7 separate regions of the Homo sapiens genome follow, and regions 1, 2, 3, 5, 6 and 7 are each linked to region 4. Evidence: promoter capture Hi-C in 16 types of primary human blood cells and fetal thymus (Javierre and others, 2016). All regions are on one chromosome and are shown on one strand. Each heading gives the region's core, a stretch centred on a gene start or on the middle of the fragment in contact. The rest is flanking DNA. Distances are from core to core; before and after follow the strand shown.

Evidence for each region. Contacts are between HindIII fragments. The CHiCAGO score rates a contact against its expected background, and 5 or more counts as called.
Region 1: the fragment with the promoter of LILRA2 here is called in contact with the fragment with the promoter of NLRP13 in region 4 in 4 of 17 cell types (naive CD8 T cells, naive CD4 T cells, activated CD4 T cells and 1 more); the score reaches 11.6 in naive CD8 T cells.
Region 2: a contact is called between a fragment that was not itself captured here and the fragment with the promoter of NLRP13 in region 4, in 3 of 17 cell types (naive CD8 T cells, activated CD4 T cells and non-activated CD4 T cells). The highest score is 6.3, in naive CD8 T cells.
Region 3: a fragment that was not itself captured here is called in contact with the fragment with the promoter of NLRP13 in region 4 in 1 of 17 cell types (activated CD4 T cells); the score reaches 5.1 in activated CD4 T cells.
Region 5: a contact is called between the fragment with the promoter of CACNG8 here and the fragment with the promoter of NLRP13 in region 4, in 1 of 17 cell types (total B cells). The highest score is 7.5, in total B cells.
Region 6: a contact is called between a fragment that was not itself captured here and the fragment with the promoter of NLRP13 in region 4, in 1 of 17 cell types (activated CD4 T cells). The highest score is 7.8, in activated CD4 T cells.
Region 7: a contact is called between a fragment that was not itself captured here and the fragment with the promoter of NLRP13 in region 4, in 1 of 17 cell types (naive CD8 T cells). The highest score is 5.8, in naive CD8 T cells.

Annotation. Positions count from the first base shown.
Region 1 is chr19:54,572,412-54,575,111 of GRCh38, reverse strand. LILRA2 (leukocyte immunoglobulin like receptor A2) reads right to left here and starts at 1,322. Exons shown (of 8, transcript NM_001130917.3): 1 at 1,200-1,322; 2 at 1,001-1,036; 3 at 530-811; 4 at 79-381. The coding sequence starts at 1,233. LOC107985347 (a long non-coding RNA gene) reads left to right here and starts at 2,284. Exons shown (of 2, transcript XR_002958419.2): 1 at 2,284-2,376. The HindIII fragment of the contact is 11,294 bases long and covers 1-2,700 here.
Region 2 is chr19:54,794,020-54,796,851 of GRCh38, reverse strand. No RefSeq gene overlaps it. Among named protein-coding and RNA genes, the nearest start is that of KIR2DL4, 8.2 kb to the left of the region's middle. The HindIII fragment of the contact is 4,657 bases long and covers 1-2,832 here.
Region 3 is chr19:54,686,867-54,689,566 of GRCh38, reverse strand. No RefSeq gene overlaps it. Among named protein-coding and RNA genes, the nearest start is that of LILRB4, 25 kb to the right of the region's middle. The HindIII fragment of the contact is 1,178 bases long and covers 766-1,943 here.
Region 4 is chr19:55,930,728-55,933,643 of GRCh38, reverse strand. It overlaps NLRP13 (NLR family pyrin domain containing 13), which reads left to right and starts at 1,308. Exons shown (of 11, transcript NM_176810.2): 1 at 1,308-1,651. The coding sequence starts at 1,333. The HindIII fragment of the contact is 1,470 bases long and covers 1-1,433 here.
Region 5 is chr19:53,961,576-53,964,427 of GRCh38, reverse strand. It overlaps CACNG8 (calcium voltage-gated channel auxiliary subunit gamma 8), which reads right to left and starts at 1,491. Exons shown (of 4, transcript NM_031895.6): 1 at 1,003-1,491. The coding sequence starts at 1,285. RefSeq lists an enhancer at 2,130-2,650. The HindIII fragment of the contact is 5,876 bases long and covers 1-2,852 here.
Region 6 is chr19:54,865,583-54,868,369 of GRCh38, reverse strand. It overlaps KIR3DL2 (killer cell immunoglobulin like receptor, three Ig domains and long cytoplasmic tail 2), which reads right to left. Exons shown (of 9, transcript NM_006737.4): 7 at 2,461-2,565; 8 at 1,948-2,000; 9 at 1,163-1,848. The coding sequence ends at 1,639. Among named protein-coding and RNA genes, the nearest start is that of FCAR, 7.3 kb to the left of the region's middle. The HindIII fragment of the contact is 1,827 bases long and covers 402-2,228 here.
Region 7 is chr19:54,669,381-54,672,381 of GRCh38, reverse strand. No RefSeq gene overlaps it. Among named protein-coding and RNA genes, the nearest start is that of LILRB4, 7.9 kb to the right of the region's middle. The HindIII fragment of the contact is 3,346 bases long and covers 1-2,945 here.

The sequences.
Region 1 (2,700 bases), core at 73-2,572, 1.4 Mb after region 4:
TGAGACGCGGCTGCTCCCCACCTGCCTGGAGACTCAGGGAGACTCAGGGAACTCCAAGCAATTCTGTGAATTTCTCACCTGGGACCAGGAGCTCCAGGAGATCACTGGGTAGAGACCACACATAGGGAGAGTTCGAGTCATAAGCATAGCACCTGTACGACCACCTGCGACTCGGGCTCACGGGGCCCACGGAGAAGATGGCCCAGGACCACCCACGGGCATGGGAATGGGAGTTCAGGCGTTGTGGGTGTTCATCTTCTCCTTCCTTACACAGAATGAAGCCGTCAAATGCCACCTGTGAGACACACTGGAGGGTCACGTTCCCTCCTGAGGTCACCACAGGGCTGGGCAGAGCTGAGAGGGTGGGTTTGCTGTAGGCTCCTAGGAGAGAAGGAGGCACTGTGTTAAATGGGGCTCCCACCTCCCACATCATCCCCAGGGTTGAGCTGTGAGAGCGGAGATGCCCCTGAGAGCCGACCCCCTTCCTGAGGGCAGAGCCTGGGGCTGGGACTCCTGAGTGTCCTCTCACCTGTCACCACCAGCTCCAGGGGGTCACTGTACTCTGATGAGTGATTGTGGCTGTAGTACTGACAGTGATACCGCCCTGCGTGTTCCCAGGTGATGGATGGGATGGGGAACTGGCCATTCTTCCCAGGCTCTTGTATCCGTCTAACCCAGGATGCTGATTTGTTTTCCCTATATAGATGGTACTCCTCAGCCTGAAGGCTCCCCTGACACCTGAGGGTCACAGGACTTCCCTGGATGATCACAGAGCCTGGCTCAGCCCAGAGGGTGGGCTTGGGGAGGTGCCCTGGAAGGAAATCAGAGGTCGGATTCTAAGTCATTTCCCACCCAACAGATCTCAGCTCTCAGCTGCAGGACCCTCCAGACACCCCCATCAGTCAGCCCAGAACTGCTATTCCCCATCCCCAGCTGCACGGGGGTGGCCCCTTGTCCCTAGTGAGGAGGAGGGACCTGGGACAGCTGGGAACAGACTCACCTGCCTGCACGTGGGTCCTGGGGCCCAGACTCAGCCCTGGAAGAGAGTTCCCTGTGAGGGATTTTTCCCCTGAAGCCTGGGCAGGTCCTCCCCTCCCTGGGATCTTTGTGAGCCCCTGGGGTCTCCTTAGGGACCAGAGTTTGGCTGTGGGGTGAGGTCCCTCCTAGGTTAGAAGCTCCCCTCCCTCTTCAAATCTCACCGAGACAGATCAGGACCGTGAGGATGGGGGTCATGGCGTCTCCTCCCACTGCCCTGCTCTGCGGATGGATGAGCCCTCAGTGCTGGCAGGACAGAGAGACGCACAGGGTGTGGACACTCGGAGGCTGGATCCTTCTTGTCATGGGGTTTTGTTATGTGCAACCACACAGGAAGTGCAACTGCCCTCTCAGGAGCCTGGCTGTCATACCTTTAGGGCTGAGGTGGGGGCAGGCACCAGGCCCTCTGCAGACATTTCAGACTGTAATGGGGTCTTTCCTGCCCCCCAGCCACTGTCTGTCTGGTTTATCCTCATCTCCTTGAGACCTGGGATGTAGCAGCAAATAGAACTGGTGCCCTCCTGCGTCTGCCCTTCCAGATGAGGGTGAGCAGAGGCTTCCTCTTCCTTCTCAGAGCTTCCCCATGGGGTCTCCCTCCCTCCTTCAGCCCGTCCATCAGCTCAGCGTTGCGGGGTCCTTACCATGGCGGTCGTCCCTCCAGCCCTGGAGATGCTTCAGGGAAAACCCAGGTCCATGCTGCAGTTAGACTCAGATCAGCAGAGACGCACCTGACACCTGGCTGTGTAGCTCAGGTTGAGCTGCGTGTGGCAGTGAGCACAGAGGAGTAATGCAGGGTCTACCATGGTGGCTCATGCCTGGAATCCCAGCACTTCAGGAGGCTGAGGTGGGTGAAGGCTAGAGGCCAGGAGCTTCAGATTACCCTGGGCCACATAGCAAGACCTTGTCTGTATAAAAAAAGCAAAAAATTAGCCAGGCATGGCAGCTCACATCTCTAGTCCCAGCTACTCAGGAGGCTGAGGTGGGAGGAATACTTCGGCCTGGGAGGCGGAGGCTGCAGGGAGCTATGATCACCCCTTAGCATTCCAGCCTCAGTGACAGAGTGAGACCCTGTCTCAAAAGGGGAAATGCAGGGATTAACTATAATAAAACATATTTGTTCTGTCTTGAGAGTGTGTGTTTCCTTCCTACCAAACCGTCCCTCTCCTGTACTTCCCCTTTTCTCTTTGTTGCAACATCACCCACCCCCACCCCGGGAATGAGGCTCTGAGTCGGTCCCGCCCCCTCAGTGTCCCTTGCGTCCTTGGCCTTCCCTCGGCACCTCCGTCCATGTTCAGAGTTTTCAGAAGAATTTGTTAGGTCTGTAATCTGATTCTGGGGAAGGTGAGCTGATTTGTATTTAATTCCTGATTATCATCCAGGGTTTATGTGACTTTGGACATGAATGTCACCTCTGAGCCTGCTGTCGTGAACCCCACTCATCACAGTGGCTGTGGGGGTCAGTGGTGCCCAGGACATGGGAGGCTCAGCCATGGTGAATTTCCAGACCAGTTCAGACAGGAGGGTGGGGACGGGAGAGGATCCTGGTGCTGGGCTCCACAGTCCAGGAGGATGATTGACGCCCCCACTCAAGAGCCCACATCGGCTCCAAATACCATGAAATTCTCCTTGTGATACATCTGAAATATGCAGATCATCACAGCCACG
Region 2 (2,832 bases), core at 252-2,751, 1.1 Mb after region 4:
CACTCCAGCCAGCTTCAGTCATGTTTCTTCCATTTCCACCTGTGGCCCCTCATGTCTCCACCAGGTCTTAGCCAGCATTGCCAAAAGAGCCAGGAAGACCAGACCAGCCACAACAATCCTGATGGAACTCTCCACAGTATAGTTCTGGAGAACAGGGGCTGGAGGGTGGGGGTAAGATCAGAGACCTTTCCATGTGGGCCAGGCCCCTCTCTCCCCAGAAGCTCTGAAATGGAGCTATTTCCCCATCTCACCTTCATAAAATTCTTCCTGTCCAGAACCCCTCTTCTCCCTATATCATCATGAGCACCTTCAGAAGTCTTTTGCCACAAAAAGAAATTTCTTTTGAAGATATACATTTTTTTGTACATTTCAAAAATGTTCCCAAACTAATTCTCCAAAGCAATAAATGTTTGTGTGTATTGCTGGGTAGGTTATGTATACAAGGAAAGGAAGCATAGTGAGTCTGATTTGGCAGAGGAAACATATGTGGAAATTATATCATTTACTCTCTTTACAAAATTAAGTACAAAATTGAAAACACTGGTAAGAAAGAATGAGCTATAGAGAAAGAAAACATCTGAGATGCTTGTTTCCAAGATGGCTGACTAAATGCTTTTCTGGCATGTCTCATCCACTTAGAAGAACGAGCAGAATCCAGAACAAAAACCATATGATCATCTCAATAGACATAAAGAAAAGCATCTGAAAAGAAATTCAACATCCTTACCTGATGAAAACCCTCAAAAACTTAGGCATAGAAAGAACATACCTCAAAATAATAAAAGCCATAGATGACATATCTAGAGTCAACATCATACTGAACAGGAAAAGTTAAAAGCACTCCTCTGAGAACTGGCACAAGACAAGGACACGGACATCCACCACTTCCTATCAACATAGTACTGGAAGCCTTGTCAGAGCTATTGGGCAACAGGAAGAATTAAAAATCCAAATTAGAAAAGAGGAAGTAAAATTATTTTTATTTCTGATGCTATGATCTTAAATCTAGAAAATCCTAAAGACCCTGCCAAAAATTCTTATGATTGATAAATGAACTAAGTAAAGTTTCAGAATACAAAATCAATATGTAAAAGCCGGTAGCATTTCTCTACACCTATAATGATCTAGCTGAGAACCAAATCAAGAAGGCAATGCCGTTTACAATAGATACGCAAAATTAAAACACTCAGGAATACATTTAACCAAGGTGGTGAAAGATCTGTACCAGGAAAGGTGTAAGACACCAATGAAAGCAATTATAGATAATACAAAAAAAAAAAAAGAAAAAAAATCCCACGCTCATGGATCATAAGAATTAATATTGTTAAAATGACCATACTGCCTAAAGCAATCTACAGATTCAGTGCAATTCTTATATGAAAATAGTAACACCAGTTTTCACAGAATTAGAAAAAGCAATCCTAAAATTCATACAGAACCAAAAAAGATCCTAATAGAGAAAGCAATTCTAGGTGAATGTAGAAACCTGGAGGCATCACGCTATCTGACTTCAAACTATGCTCTAAGGCTATAGTAACTTAAATAGCACAGTGCTGGTATAGACACAGAAACAGAGATCAATAGACCAGAATAGAGAGCCCAGAAATACAGCCTCATATCTACAGTGAATAATCATTGACGACGTTAACAAAACATACACTGGAGAAAGATTTCCTTTTCAATAAAAGGTGCTGGGAAAACTAAATAGCCATATGCAGAAGAATAAAACTGGACCTGTATCTGTAATCATACACATAAATTAACTTAAGGTAATTAGCAGCTTAAATGTAAATCCAGAACTATAAAATCACCGGTGGAAACCCAAAGAGAAACTCTTCTGGGCATTGGTCTGGGCAAAGAATTCATCACTAAGACCTCAAAAGCACAGGCAATAAAAATAAAACTAGACCAATGGGACTTAATAAACGAAAGAGCTTCTGCCAAGCAAAGGAAATAGTAGCAGGGTGAACAGACAACCCACAGAATGAATGGAAATGTTTGCAAACTATGCACCCAACAGAGGACTAACATCCAGAATTTCTAGGCAACTCAAACAACTAAACATAACCCCTCAAATAATAGCATTAAAAAGTGGGCAAAGGGATATACATAGACATTTTTCAAAAGAAGACATACGAATGGCCAAACAGCGTATGAACATCACTAATCATCAGAGAAATGCAAATTGAAACCACAATGAGATATCATCTTACAGTAGTCAGAATGGCTATTACTAAAAATGCTGGTGGGGAGTGGTGGCTCACGCTTGTAATCCCAGCACTTTGGGAAGCTGAGGCGGGTGGATCATGAGGTCAGGAGTTTGAGACCAGCCTGACCAACATAGTGAAACCCCATCTCTACTAAATATACAAAAGATTAGCTGGGCATGGTGGTGTGGTTCTGTAATCCCAGCTACTCAGGAGGCTGAGGCAGGAGAATCATTTGAACCTGGTTGGTGGAGGTTGCAGCGCGTGGAGATGGCGGCACTGCACTCCAGCCTGGGTGACAGTGGAAGACTCCATCTCAAAAAGAAAAAAAGAAAAAGTGAAACATATAACAGGTGTTGGCAAGGATGCAGAGAAAAGGAAACTCTTATACACTGTTGGCCGGTATGTAAATTAGTATAGCCTCTATGGAAGACAGTATGGAAATTTGGCAGAGAACCAAAAATAGAAGCACCATTCGATCTAGGGGTCCCGCTGCTGGGTATCTACTCAAAAAATACCTGCACCTGTATGTTTATTGCAGCACTGTTTGCAATAGCAAAGATATGAAATCAATCTAAGTGTCTGTGAATGAATGATTGGATTAAAAAAAGGATGCGTGTATACA
Region 3 (2,700 bases), core at 105-2,604, 1.2 Mb after region 4:
TTTTGCATTTTTTACTTGTTTAATAATTAACAAGTTGTTAAATTACAAAGTAAAATAATTGGTGTTAAAAATTGAGAAATATTAGATTCTTGGAAATTACAGATTAGTTCAGAGAAATAGATACTTTAAAAACTCAAAGCCATTTCTTGGTGGATACACAATAATCCATAACAGTTTGGCCCAAGTGTTGTAGAGGATGGGGAGAAAAATAAGAGAATAAGAAAAGAATATGAATTTCATATATGGTGTGCACATGAACCTGTTGAAAAATTTTCTTGGAAAGAAAATATTTTATAACAACAACTAGAATATATTTAGCAAATTTGTATCAGAGATCAACAAACCAACAAACACAAGTTAGAGAAAGGGGCATGTTGCCCATTAAGTCATAGAGAAAACATACAAATACATTTAAATTATACCAAATAAATCATGTAAGCAGGAGTGAGAATGACACAATTATGGTAAATAATGGAGACGAGAAAATACCTGTGAGTCCTAGACCCGTTGTGATTACGGGCCCCATATGTCCTTCAGTAACTACAATCATTTATGAAAAAGTAAATACTGGTCTTTGTTTCTTTTATCGAATTCTTTGTTTTTCTTATGGAAACACAATTAGGAAATAATGAGGCTATATTTTACTTTCTGGGATGGTGACAGGAAATTCCTCACCTCACGCTCCCGTGGCTAGGATCTCAGCTGTCAGAACAGACCAAGCGTTCACCACTTAGGGGCTGAGAGGAGGAACAGTTTCAGAAAGCTTTGGCTTCAGAACCCAGTGAATCTGGAGCAGATGAAAAGGTTTCGGAACTCTGAAAGCGCTTTTAAATACGGTTAAGGATCAGAGTTGCATTTATTAGACATGAACACCCATATAGTCCCTGATTATTCCTGCTCTCTAAGCCTTGACAATTCTTAGTCACGTTTTGTAAAAGTGAGATTTATATTTTTCTAAATGAAAGATATAATTTACCTTCTTCACGCCGATCTGAGAAATTGTCTATAGACATATATTACTGGTGAAATCAAGTGCATTCGGCTCCCCGGAACCCATAAGAAAGGAGATGAAAGTGTACCGTTTTGCAATCATCACAGAAGGTTTTCAGAGACGTACAGCCATTGCCAACCAAAGTGCAGCATGCAGCCACCAGAGATATTTCAAATGTCCTAAGTACCAGTTGCCATTAGACAACAGGTGTGTGAACAGGAGCCAAGACCTGAACACACTCTTACCCCTCGTACAAAGAGGAGAGCTAAGACTATGAGGTTTGGTATATTTATTCAGACAGAGTCTTTCAGATGGGGCTATGACAGAGAAGGTAAACAGGAGATGCCAGGCAGCCCTGAGTGGGAAGGCTGGGGTGGTTCTGTGTCTCAGGAACTCTCAGAAAATACCCCTGCCCCATGTTTCTTTTCCATGTTCAGTTTTGACCTTAGGGGAAATAGACCGGGATGTTTACACCATATATATATATATATATATATATATATATATATATATATACACACACACATATATGTTGCAACAAATATTCTACATCTCTAAGAATATGGCTCTCTAACTGAAAGAAGGTCCACTTACCAAATGCAGTTTCTTGCTGGGAAAGCAACTGCCATAGTCACAGTCTAAGCACCTCCACAAAAGGGGGCATCTTAACCCTGAGATAAAGGCTTAAGACTACCATGAGATCCTTTTCTTGCCGGGAAGTGATTATCATTTCATCTGCAAGTACAGTGACAGTGTTTGCATAGGGATTTCAGTTGATCTAGAAAAACATCCGTGAAATGTTCAAATTACTGAAAGCTATTCGTAGCTATTAGTTTTAGTCGACTGAGAAAGTTGGAGCAAGAAAGAGAGAGATGGAAAGAAACAGAACAATAGAGAGACAGAGACAGGAAGAGACAGAGAAACTTAGAGAGGAAATCATATCTGGGAAGCTTGAAGTAGACTAGGTAGAGACGGCATTGCAGCCAAGGACATTGAGATCTAACTGAGAGAAGGAAAGTAAGGATAAGGCTGGGGTTTGTTTCTTGCCAACCTTAAGGTTTTGCCTCCCCCAAGAATATTTTTCCATTCTGAGGACTTTGCACTAAAGGCAGCCTGGAAGGGAGAAAAAAAGAGAGAATCAAGTAGAAATCATTTGCTCCAGTGTTAAAAATAAACTTGGAAGAAGTGGAGACACTTTTATTCACTGTTTTCATGGGCACACATTAAGTATCTAATGGGTCAAACGTGATTCTTGGTGTATAAGATGTATCAGAAAAAAGACAGAAAGACTTCTAAAAAAGTGTCTGTATTGAATCAATATTATAGTTGAGAAAGATGGATATTAGACAACAACAAAAATTAATAGAAAATCCAATATGTTATAGGATGATACATGTCTTGTGAGCAAAATAACAATAAAGTAATAGCAGAGAGCTCCCCTGAGCAAGAAGAAATTCTTCCAGCAGATTGTCTTTGGATTTTTTAGTTTGCTACAACTCTTTCCTGAGTCTCCAGGATACTCTACTGTCCTGCAGATTTTGGACTCACCAAGCTCCTACAATCACATGAGCCAATTCCTAGGTAAATGAATAGATAAACAAATAAATAGATAGATAGATAAATAGATAGATACATAGATACATGGATAGATACATAGATAGATACATAGATACACAGATAGACACATAAATAAACATTCTGCTGGTTCA
Region 4 (2,916 bases), core at 59-2,558:
AGGGCTTTTCTTCATGATGTTTCAAGTTTTCCTCTGTGTGTCTTTCCCCATCTTTTCTCCAACAATTTCTGGAGTAGTCCAATGAATTTGGGCTGCCAGGGTAGGTCCTAACATACATCTCTTCTGGAGATTTCTCTTTGGGAGACATTCGGGGGTCACACACCAGTAGCTTCAAGCATAGTGTTTTGGGCCAGGCATGGTGGCTCATGCCTGTAATCCCAGCATTTTGGGAGGCCAAGGCCAGTATGCACCTGTAGTCCCAGCTACTCGGACGCTGAGGCAAGAGAATCACTTGAACCTGGGAGGCAAAGACTCCAGTGAGCCGAGATCCAGCCATTGCACTCCAGCCTGGGCAACGAGAGCGAAACTCCATCACAAAAAAAAAAGTCTTTTGTTCTGCTGTCTATCTGTTGCCTTCAATACTACCTGGTATTTTGACATGACCCAGCATACATGCCGGACCAGGTTCTATGGGGGAATAGTGGCAGATCTGTCTCAATCACCATTAGCTGCCTGGTGGCCAAAATCGTGATGGGCGGAAACTTCTATTTTCTCTCTTTGTTACCCCTTCTCCCTGATTAGTTTCCCCCGTTCCCATCTCTCAAATGTCTTTGATCTTTACTGTGACTAATTAACTTCAATGTTCTTCTTATTCACATTTCAGGTGAACCCTCTGAATGTGAGTTGGTAAGTACCATCATGCACCTGTAACTTTTCTAGGACAGCTGTCACTGTTAGTAAGGCAGATAAATCAGGTGCTGATGGCATTGTTCCTTCTGGGATGGGATGAAAGCCAGTGATCTCGAGTCTAGGTAAGGTTGCTAGAGAAAATACCCAGTTGAGGCCGGGCCCGGTGGCTCACGCCTGTAATCCCAACACTTTGGGAGGCCGAGGCGGGCGGATCACAAGGTCAGGAGATCGAGACCATCCTGGCTAACACGGTGAAACCCCATCTGTACTAAAAATACAAAAAAAACTAGCTGGGCGTGGTGGCGGGCACCTGTAGTCCCAGCTACTCAAGAGGCTGAGGCAGGAGAATGGCGTGAACCCGGGAGGCGGAGCTTGCAGTGAGCCGAGATCGCACCATTGCACTTCAGCTTGGGGGACAGAGCGAGACTCCATCTCAAAAAACAAAACAACAACAAAAAAGTGTACTAACACAAGTAGCAGGAAGTACTGTGAAGCGAAAATACTCAAATGTGTAGGCAAGACAGTGAGAGGAGGTGATATTTATGGCTTATGATTTCAACTCTCTCCTTTTCTGCAGGTCACAAGTGTCCTGTGGATATAGGAGTCCTTTGCTGAAGTGAGAAACTGCATGTGTTGGGCAAGATGAACTTTTCTGTAATCACCTGCCCCAACGGTGGTACCAACCAAGGGCTTCTGCCTTACCTGATGGCCCTGGATCAGTATCAGCTGGAGGAATTCAAGCTTTGCTTGGAACCCCAGCAGCTGATGGACTTCTGGTCGGCCCCCCAGGGGCACTTCCCGCGTATCCCCTGGGCAAACTTGAGAGCTGCCGACCCTTTGAATCTGTCCTTTCTTTTGGATGAACACTTCCCAAAAGGTCAGGCATGGAAAGTGGTCCTCGGCATCTTCCAGACAATGAATCTGACCTCACTGTGTGAGAAAGTTAGAGCCGAGATGAAAGGTGAGAGTCCTCAAGAAGGAAGGCGGGAGGGCTGCTTGGTACTCCTGAGGCAAGGAGGTAGCCGCTGGGTTTTTGTGGGGTCATTCCACACTGCCGATCTCCCCCTACAAATCCTCCTTGATAATCTATGACAGTATGATGTTTAAAGGCATAAAGGCTATAAAGATTTAGTGCTCTAGCCTGGGAAGGAGTAGCAAAGGCAAGAAAGGGAATCGGAAGAGGCACATTCAGTTATGTTATAAGCCTTTTTCTTTCTTTCTTTCTTTCTTTTTTTTTTTTTTTTGAGCCTGAGTCTCCACTCTGTCGCCCAGGCTGGAGTGCAGTGGTGCGATCTGAGGTCACTGTAACCTCTGCCTCCCAGGTTGAAGCGATTCTCCTGCCTCAGCCTCCCAAGTAGCTGGGACTACAGGCGCCCGCCACCACACCCGGCTAATTTTTTTGTATTTTTAGTAGAGACGGGGTTTCACTGTGTTAGCCAGGATGGTCTCAATCTCCTGACCTCGTGATCTGCTCGCCTCGACCTCCCAAAGCACTGGGATTACAGGCGTGAGCCACCGCGCCCAGCCCAGGCTTCTTTTAAACATGCAAATTTGTCCCAGTGTGATTGTCGTACTGGGAACAATTTGAGTGCAGCACAGATTTCATGTTAGCTTATGCATGGTTTTGCCCAAGAGAAACACTAAGAAACCACAACAACCCCCGCCCTGCCCCCGCAACCCACCGACCCTGCACTCAGCCGAGCAGAGCCATGTAGGATTGTACACAATGCACACAGGCATGTACCTCAAACATCTACCCGCTTCCTCAGTACGAGCCTTGCCCATTCTACACTTTCTGTCTGATTTCAGATCATTGTTCTTTCACTTCACAAAAACTCACAAGCTGCGACACTTCCCATATTCACAAGCAAAGTTCATGTTTTACTCAGGGTAAAGTTTCATGCCACATCTTCTGTGGCATTGCAAGACCTGCTGAGGTGTTACAGGGCTGATTGTGGTGTTGTAGGATCGTGCAGTGTTTATTGTGGTAATAAAGTGTTTTGTAATTAATCAGCAAGTATAAAACCATGCTGTTTAAGCTTCTGGTTAAAATTTTATATATATATATATATATATATAATCACTGATTCTATCTCCTGTAAGCCGTCTGGTCTTAGTGCACCATGTAATCTGCTGTGGTGAGTTTTCAGAATGCACACATCACTTTATAAAAGAACTGACTGCCTATGAGAGCTGTTGAAAATAATCATGTTTCCTGGTGCCTGT
Region 5 (2,852 bases), core at 242-2,741, 2.0 Mb after region 4:
CTGGTGGGAGAGACATGGGTGGGGGCACTGATGGGAAGAGAAAGATGAACAGGAGGAGAAGCACAAGGCAGAAAAGAGAGAAAGTCATGAGTGAGGGCGAGTTAAGGCACGAAGTTTCAGGGGAGCAGCAGCCAAAGAGAAGGGGAAAGAGACAGACCGGAAGACTGGGCCGTGAAAGGGGGCGGGAGAGGCAGGGGACTTCAGAGGACTGGGGGGGAAATGTCGGGAGAGAGAAGATGTCACGGGGCACGAGGGAGAGGAAATGAAGGGGCAGGTGGAGCGGAGGAGCAGGGTCAAGATGAACTGACGGGAAAGAGGGAGAAAGAGGCTGCTGGGTGCAGTGGCTCATGCCCTTCATCCCAGCACTTTGGAGGCCAAGGCAGGAGGATCTCTTGAGCTCAGGAGCTCGAGACCAGCCTGGGCAACAGGAGACCTCATCTCTACAAATAATAAAAAAAATTAGCTGGGCACAGTGGCTCATGCCTGTGGTCCCAGCTACTCAGGAGGCAGAGGTGGGAGGATGGCTTGAGCCTAGGGATTCGAGGCTGCAGTGAGCTGTGATTGTGCCACCGTACTCCAGCCTGGGCGACAGAGTGAGACCTTGTCAAAAAAAAAAAAAAAAAGAGAAAAGGCACAGGGCAGAGTGGAAGAAATGAAACAGGAGGAGCCCCAGGTACTGGAGAGAGGGAAGATGCAGGGGTGTGATGGGGCAGCGCAGGAGACACGGACTAGGGAAAGATAGGATAAGGGGGTTCAGCGGAGAGGCAGAGGGGCTGCAGAGGGAGCATGCCGAGGAATTCCGCAGGGTGCCAGGACGCAGGGAGGAGTGGGAAGGAGGGGAGAGGAGGTCAGGGGCGCGAGTGGGAAGGCGCAGAAGCCCCTCTGGCAGAGGAGGAGGGGTGCCCAAGGGGGCCCCAGGATCAGGGACAGGCAGCCCCGGGAGGCTCAGGGTCTCTCGGAGGGGAGCGGCGGGGGCTGCGGGGAGGGCCGCCCGCACCCTACCTTCCAGGCAGCAGATCCTCCAGAGGCCCGAGTGCGTGAGGCCGCCGGGGTCCTTCTTCTCCGAGGCGCCGCCGCCCCCGCGGTGGGGGGTCCCGTCGTCGCCGCCGGCCGTGAGGTTGGTGGTGTTGCAGATGAGGGCGCGCGTGTAGAGCCAGTAGTCAGTGCTGATGGCGATGGTCATGAGGCCGAAGGCGGCGAAGGCGCCCACCGTCGTCAGCAGCACCTGCACCCCCTTCTCGCACCAGAGGCCCCGCTCTTCGTTCCAGCGCTTCAGCGACTCCAGTTTGACCACGGGCAGCCGGGGGGCCGTGGGCCACCACCGGGGCAGCGGGGGCGGGGCCGTGCCGGCGGCTGGGGGGGGGTTCACAGCGCAGGCAGAAGCGGGGGGCCCGGGGCCGGCGGGGCTGGGGAGGGGGGCGGCGAGGAGGAGGCTGCGGCCGGGGAGGGGGTCAGAGCGCGGCCATGGTCGGCGGCTGGTGGAGGGCAAGGAGCGAGATCTCGCATTAGAGGAGAAGAAGGCACAGGTACCTCCCCCAGTCCCCGCCCCCCCCCCCCCAAAATCCCTGCCTCAGCTCCAGAAACTCCTTCCACTCGGGGCTCCACTGCTTCTCTTTCTCAAAAATAATAATAATAATAATAATAATAATAATAATTAATAAATAAGATGAAATCTCTCTCCACTCTTGTCTTCTGCCCAAGAAAGTCATCCCACCATCCCACTAACCCCACTCGGAGGAGTCCCCACCACCGCTAATAATTAATAAATAAGATGAAATCTCTCTCCACTCCTGTCTTCTGCCCAAGAAAGTCGTCCCACCATCCCACTAACCCCACTCGGAGGAGTCCCCACCACCGCTAATAATTAATAAATAAGATGAAATCTCTCTCCACTCCTGTCTTCTGCCCAAGAAAGTCGTCCCACCATCCCACTAACCCCACTCGGAGGAGTCCCCACCACCGCTAATAATTAATAAATAAGATGAAATCTCTCTCCACTCCTGTCTTCTGCCCAAGAAAGTCGTCCCACCATCCCACTAACCCCACTCGGAGGAGTCCCCACCACCGCTCACACTCACAGCCCTCGCCCCTAGCCCGCGCCGCCTCCGCCCCAGGGGGCTCCACGATCCTCATCGCATGGGAAGCCACCCCCCGCCATGATGCCAAGCCCCACGCCGCCGCCTCCTCCCCAGGAGCCCCCGTCGCGTTCTTCCTTCCTTAGCGACCCCCGCCCCATCACCATGCGGCGCCCACCAGCTCTCCCCACTCTTCCCCTGCAAGCCCCACCTCTCCACCCGCTAGAACCCTTCCCTGTCAGCCCAACTTTTCCCTGAGCGTCTCCACAACTTAAGAAGCCCGAGTAGCACCACTTCCGTGGGAGTAACCTCCGCGAGCCCCCTCCGGTCTGGCTTTTGTCATTCCATCACTCCAAATGGTCCCCCACAGTTTCCTCTCCTTAGGAAAAAATAAATCTCTCAACCTCTCTTCAACTAAAAAGGAAAAATTAAAAGAAGAAGAAAAAGAAAAAGAAAATCCCAGCTGACCCTCACAGTTTGTGCAACTCGGAATCACCAGCCACCCTCAGTCAGCCTCCTCTCCCTGGAAGCCCCCTTCCTGCCTCGGGCAGCCTCCAACACACCTGGAAATCACCCGAGGACCTTAAAAATTCGGATGTTTGAGTCCCACCTGAGAAAGTCCGACATGGTTGGTCTGCAGTGTGGCCTGCGCATGTAAGTTTTTAAAAGCTCCCTGGGGAATTCTAATGCACCCAACATCAGACCCACTGGTTTGCAAGCTGCCCCCCCCCCGCCATCTCCAGCCCATTCCCTGTCACAGCCCCCACTGTCTCCCCA
Region 6 (2,787 bases), core at 66-2,565, 1.1 Mb after region 4:
TATGTTTCTATAGGACAGAACTTACCTGTAGATGTAAGGGAGTCACAACAAAATTACAAGCATTGTTTTTGGTGGAAATGAGAAAAATGATTACAAATTTACATGGAAAAGCAAATAGCCAATAATAATAATAATGGCAATCTTAAAGAGGAAGGAGAAATTAGAGGATTCAGGCTGCCAAATTTTAAGGGGTTCTATAAGGCCACATAAAGTGCAGCATCCTCATGAGAGTGGACACAGAGAGCCACTGAGCAGAAAAGAGTGTGTAAAATACATCTGTGTACACACAGTCCTTTTATAGTTGACAGAGGCTGCCATGCGGATTAAGGTGGAATAGAATGTCTTCTCAGTAAATAACATTGGACCAGAGGGTTACAAGCAGGAAAAAATAAATCTAAGCTTATTTTCACACCATAAAAACACTGCTAATTTTTTATCTTATTATCATACATTTTGATGATTTATTTATAAAATTGATGAATGAAAATTATATACAGTTGTCCTTCACTATTCATGGGTGATTGGTTCCAGGAAACCCCCCTCCCTACCAGACACCAAAATCTGCAGATGCTCAAGCCTGTTGCATGAAATGGCACAGCGTTTGCATATAACCCATGCACATCCTCCTGTATACATGAAATCATCTCTAGATTACTTATAATTCCTGATACAGCCTACACACCACCTCACTTGTGTCCACACAATATAGTATTTTTGCTTTTTGGAACTTTGTGGATTTTTTCTCTGAATATTTTTGATTTATATTTGGTTCAATAAACACCTGTAAACCCCACAGATATGGAGGAGCGACTGTATATTTATAGTATGAAAGATGATGTGTTGACATGTGTCCCTGTGGAGATGAGACTAACAAGGCCTATGACTCTACAAATGTTTCATCTTGGAATGACTCTGCCAGCTTTCCAGGTCTGCAGAGAGTAAGAATATCACTTGTTCATGTGATTCACGATCCTTGGAACCTCCTATGTGCTGCATCTTTGGATGGAAATTGGAGTCCCAGAGACAAATGAGGCTCCACCCTGCTTCCAGAAGCTCAGAGTCCAGGGCTGAGAACCCAGTAGAGAACATATCAGGTTATATGGACATAGTAATGATAACACTGGAAACTTTTGGCGAATAAAGAGTCACATTATCGAAACCATGAGGGCAGACATGTTTATTTGAAGAGGAGAGAGCTACACTGAAGTTATAAAAAAAATTTATAAATTTTACTGATGACAGAAGGCTGAAAGATAGTCTGAGGGGAGGTGGAACAGCATGAGGGAAGGTGGAACAGCAAGTGTGTAAGTGCCGTGTTAAGAGGGAGCCTCTTGTATGTTTGGAATTGTGAGTTCCTCAGTGTGATTGCAGCCTCAAGTAGGACTAGGAAGTAAGCCAGTTAGGTTGGAGAGGTGGGCAGGGGTCAAGTGAAATAGATACTTGTGGGCTAAGCAAAGGAGTGTGTTTTCTCTGCAGCAGGCAGTGGCGACCTTAGGCATTTGTAAGCAAGAGAGAGGCATGTTCAGATTCGTGGTGTGAGGAAGAGCGATCCCCTAAGATGCAGACTGATGCCTTCAGATTCCAGCTGCTGGTTCATTGGATCTGGCAACCTGGTTTTGAGACAGGGCTGTTGTCTCCCTAGAAAACCCCCTCAAGACCTGACTGTGGTGCTCGTGGGCAGGAGACAACTTTGGATCTGGGCTCAGCATTTGGAAGTTCCGTGTACACGCTGGTATCTGTTAGGGGTGTCTTGGGCCTCTGAGAAGGGCGACTGATTTTTCTCTGTATGAAAACGCAGTGATCCAACTGTGCGTACGTCACCTCCTGAGGGTCTTGTTCATCAGAGTCCTGGAGAGAGGGAAATGCTGAGTGAGGGAGGGTGCTCACATTTTTCAGGACTATTAGGGATAAGACTGTATCCGTGAGGCTGGGCCGAGGAGGACCTACCTGCCTATTCACTGTTCTGTCCCCCGCAGGCTCTTGGTCCATTACAGCAGCATCTGTAGGAGACGGAAGTCATCAAAACCGCTTGGAGGGCCCTTCTGGGTCCTCATTTCATGGGCAGACACCAACCCACAGGGGGAGGCTGTAGGTGCCTGAGGCTCTTCAGCTGCCAACATCCAGACTCAGACATTCTATCTCTCTGAGTTCAAGACCCCATCCCATGAAGTGCTCTCAATTGGCATCCCATTGATTCTGTCTCCCACTTTCTGCCTGTCATGGAAGCTTCTGGATGTCAGTAGCTGCAGGGGATGTGAGGATACAGTTCAGAACCAGGCAATGGTCTGTGAGCTGAAGGCAGGGGCAGGTTGTCTGGTGCTCTCTCTAGAAAGCCCTGCCTCTGTGGCTCCTCCCTTGGGCCAGGGACCATCCTGCCAGTGAGGAACACACACCCGCGTGCTCCCATCCTGCTTCCCCACATGGCCCTGAGCTCTCTGGCCTCTGCTTCGTGAGACTTACTCTTTTTGTTGGAGCACCAGCGATAAAGGAGAAAGAAGAGGAGGAGGATGAAGAGGAAGATGACCACTGAGGTCCCAATCAGAACATGCAGGTGTCTGCAGATACCTGGAGGAAGATGGGAATCCAATAAGAAGCTAATCATAGCAGTTCCTCTTTATGGATTGTCTCATTTCTTGATTGACAGGTAACCACATGGAACATCTCCTTAGGACAAGCAGCCTGATGGCGGGAGACCCAGCTTTCTCCTGCTTTCTCAGTTACAGCTCTCATAGAAACCATAGAACATGCTGAGGATACAGCTGCTTTAGTTTAGATGTTTGACCCTTT
Region 7 (3,001 bases), core at 23-2,522, 1.3 Mb after region 4:
TGCACCAAGAGGGAGGCTGTCTCACGGATCTGTCCTGGAGAGAAGAAGGATGGGTGAGGAGCCGCCCCACCTTGTTCTGAGCTGAGACTTCCCCAGGCCTCTCTCTGGGACCCTCAGTATCTCTGTCTCTGTTTTCTCTGAGTTTCCCCGTCCCCGCCCAATCCATCCTCTCTCTCTCTCTGCCTCTCCCTCCCTTGAGACCCCCACCCCTCATCCCAACCATCACCACCTAGGCTCCCCTGGCAGGGCCTGTACAGAGCCTGGGTCCCTAACTGAACCCGCTGGGCTTCTCACCTGCGATCAGGATGTCCAGGGGGGTCACTGGGGGCTGACCACCTAGAGGAGAGGTTGTGTCCACTGAACATCTGTACTGGCCCCCATGGGAGATGCTCACAGGGCCTAAGGGGAAGTCATCTTGGGAGAACTTCTGGCCAGAACTCTGGGGAAGGTGATGTATCTTTTTCTTGGACAGAGAGAATATTTTGCAGCCAACATCAGAGCAACACAGGAGGGTCAACCTCTCTCCATGGGCCATGACAGGACCCTGTGGAGTCAAATGGGAGGGCTCCCTAGGCACACCTGGAGTGTGCGAGGAGCTGGGACTCAGAGGGCTGGTTCCTTCCAAGCCTCTTCTTTCACCAGGTTGCCTCCAGGTATGGTCAGAATCTAGTGAGCTGCTGGAGCTCTTGGTCTCAGGTGCTAAAGTCTGCTAAACCAGACTGGTAAACCTCCACCTGTGGCTAGAAGTCATGGGGTCTGCCAGGATCAGGGCTTGGAACTGTCCATCGGACTGTTTTTCGGGGTCCAGGAGACAGAATAGCTTGTGTTCACCTTCCACGGTCAGAATGAACCTGTCAAATCCCAGCCGTGAAGGACATAATGGTGTCACCTTACCTCCTGAGGTCAGGACAGGGCTGGGCTGAGCTGAGAGGGTGGATTTGCTGTAGAATCCTAGGACAGAAGGAAGCACCATGTTAAATGGGGCTCACACCTTCCACATCATACCCCAGGGCTGGGCTGTGAGAAGGGAGACACCCCCTGAGAGCTGAACCCCTTCCTGAATGCAGTGCCTGGGGCTGGGATCCCTGAGTGTCCTCTCATCTGTCACCACCAGTTCCAGGCGGTCACTGGGTTCTGACAAGCCTGCAGGGCTGAGAAAGTGACAGCGATATCACTGTGCATAGTGCAGAAATGCAGGGAAATAGGGGAAGAAAACATAACTCCTCCACTGACCCTGGGTCGTGGGTATTCTTTCTACCAAACAATTCTCTGCTTGGGCTTCCCTTTTTTTGTTACTATTTTCTAACAGTCTCCTCCACATCTCCCTGGATACAGCACTTGATTCATTTCTGCCTCCTCAGTGCCCCTTGTCTAGTTCTCAGAACCTTCCTCCTCCTCTTTCCATGGTCCTGCCCTGAAGCCTTAGGGACATTGGGTGGGTTAGCACTCCAACTTTGAAAGGAAAGCTAATCTTTATTTAAATAATCATCTGTCATCCACTGTCTGTGGCCAGGACTTAGCAGCAAATACATCTGGTGCCTTCCTCAGTTGGACCCTTTCCAATGAGGCTGACTGAGGGCTGAGCACACAAGTGCATGAGAAGTGCTAATAGTTCAGCCAGAGTGCAATTAGAACCTGCCCTTTCTGTAGGAGGAGGATGGAAGAATCCTTGCTCAAAAGTATATGCTCTCACTTCTTCTATTCAGCATAGTAATAGAAGTCCTAGACACAGCAATTAGGCAATAAAAATACACAAAAGCACCCAAATCAGATAAAAAGTGATATTGTCTCTGTTTGCTGACATGATTTTATATATAAAAATCTCTAAAGACTCAACCAAACAACTTTTAGAACTGATCCACGAATTTAGTAGAGTTGCAGGATACAAAATCAACATGCAGAAATTGGTAGCATCTCTATATACTAAAAACAAACTATCCAGAAAGAAATCGAAAGAAAAATTACACTTATAATAGCTAAAAAATTACTTAGAATTAAATTTAACCAAGGAGGTTTAATATCTCTGCACTAAAATCTTTATAACATTGATGAATGAAATTGAACAAGACGCATATAAATGGGAAGGTAGCTTATGTTCATGGTCTGCAAGAATTAACATTGTTAAAATGTTCGTATAACAATGAGAACACATGGACACAGGGAGGGGAACAACACACACTGGGGCTTGTAGTGGGAGGGCGGATGATGAAGGGAGGGAGAGCATCAGGAAAAAGAGCTAATGCATGCTGGGCTTAATAACTAGGTAATGGGTTGATAGGTGCAGCAAACCACCATGGCACAAGCCTACCTATGTAACAAAGCTGCAGGTCCTGTACATGTGCCCTGGAACTTTAAAAAAAAGTTCATACCTGCAGACTCAATGCAATTCCTAACAAAATTCCAAGGTCGTTTTCCACAGAAATAGAAAAACAATCCTAAAATTTGAATGGGACTACAAAAGGACCCCAAATAGCCAAAACAATCTTGAGCAAAGGGAAGAAGGGGATATCACACTATGGAATCCCCAAATATCCTACAAAGCTACAGCCAGGAAGACATCATGGAACTGGAATAGAAACAGGTACAGTGATCAGTGCAACAGGGATGAAAGCAAAGAAGGAAACACACATATTTATGGTGAATTGATCCTCAACAAAGTTTCCAAGAACAAGAGAGGGCAGTCCTTTTGAATAAATGGTCCTAGGAGAACTGAGTCTCCATGGAGTGTGGAGGTCTGGGTCCTCCCTGGGCTAGTGGATGGCCAGAGCAGTATACACACTCGGCTCAGCTGAACGTCCCCTTTCCTGGGAGGAAGAAGGCTTCATTATTTTCTGTTTGAGGGTAAGCTGTGCAGCTGGGCATAGGACACATCCTGGGGATATTCATATGAAGAAGAATGAAATTGAACCCTTATCCCATATACAAAAATGGGTGGGAGAAAAGCTTCAAGACGTTGGTCCGGGCAAGGTTTTTTTGGATATGGCCCTGAAAACACAAGCAA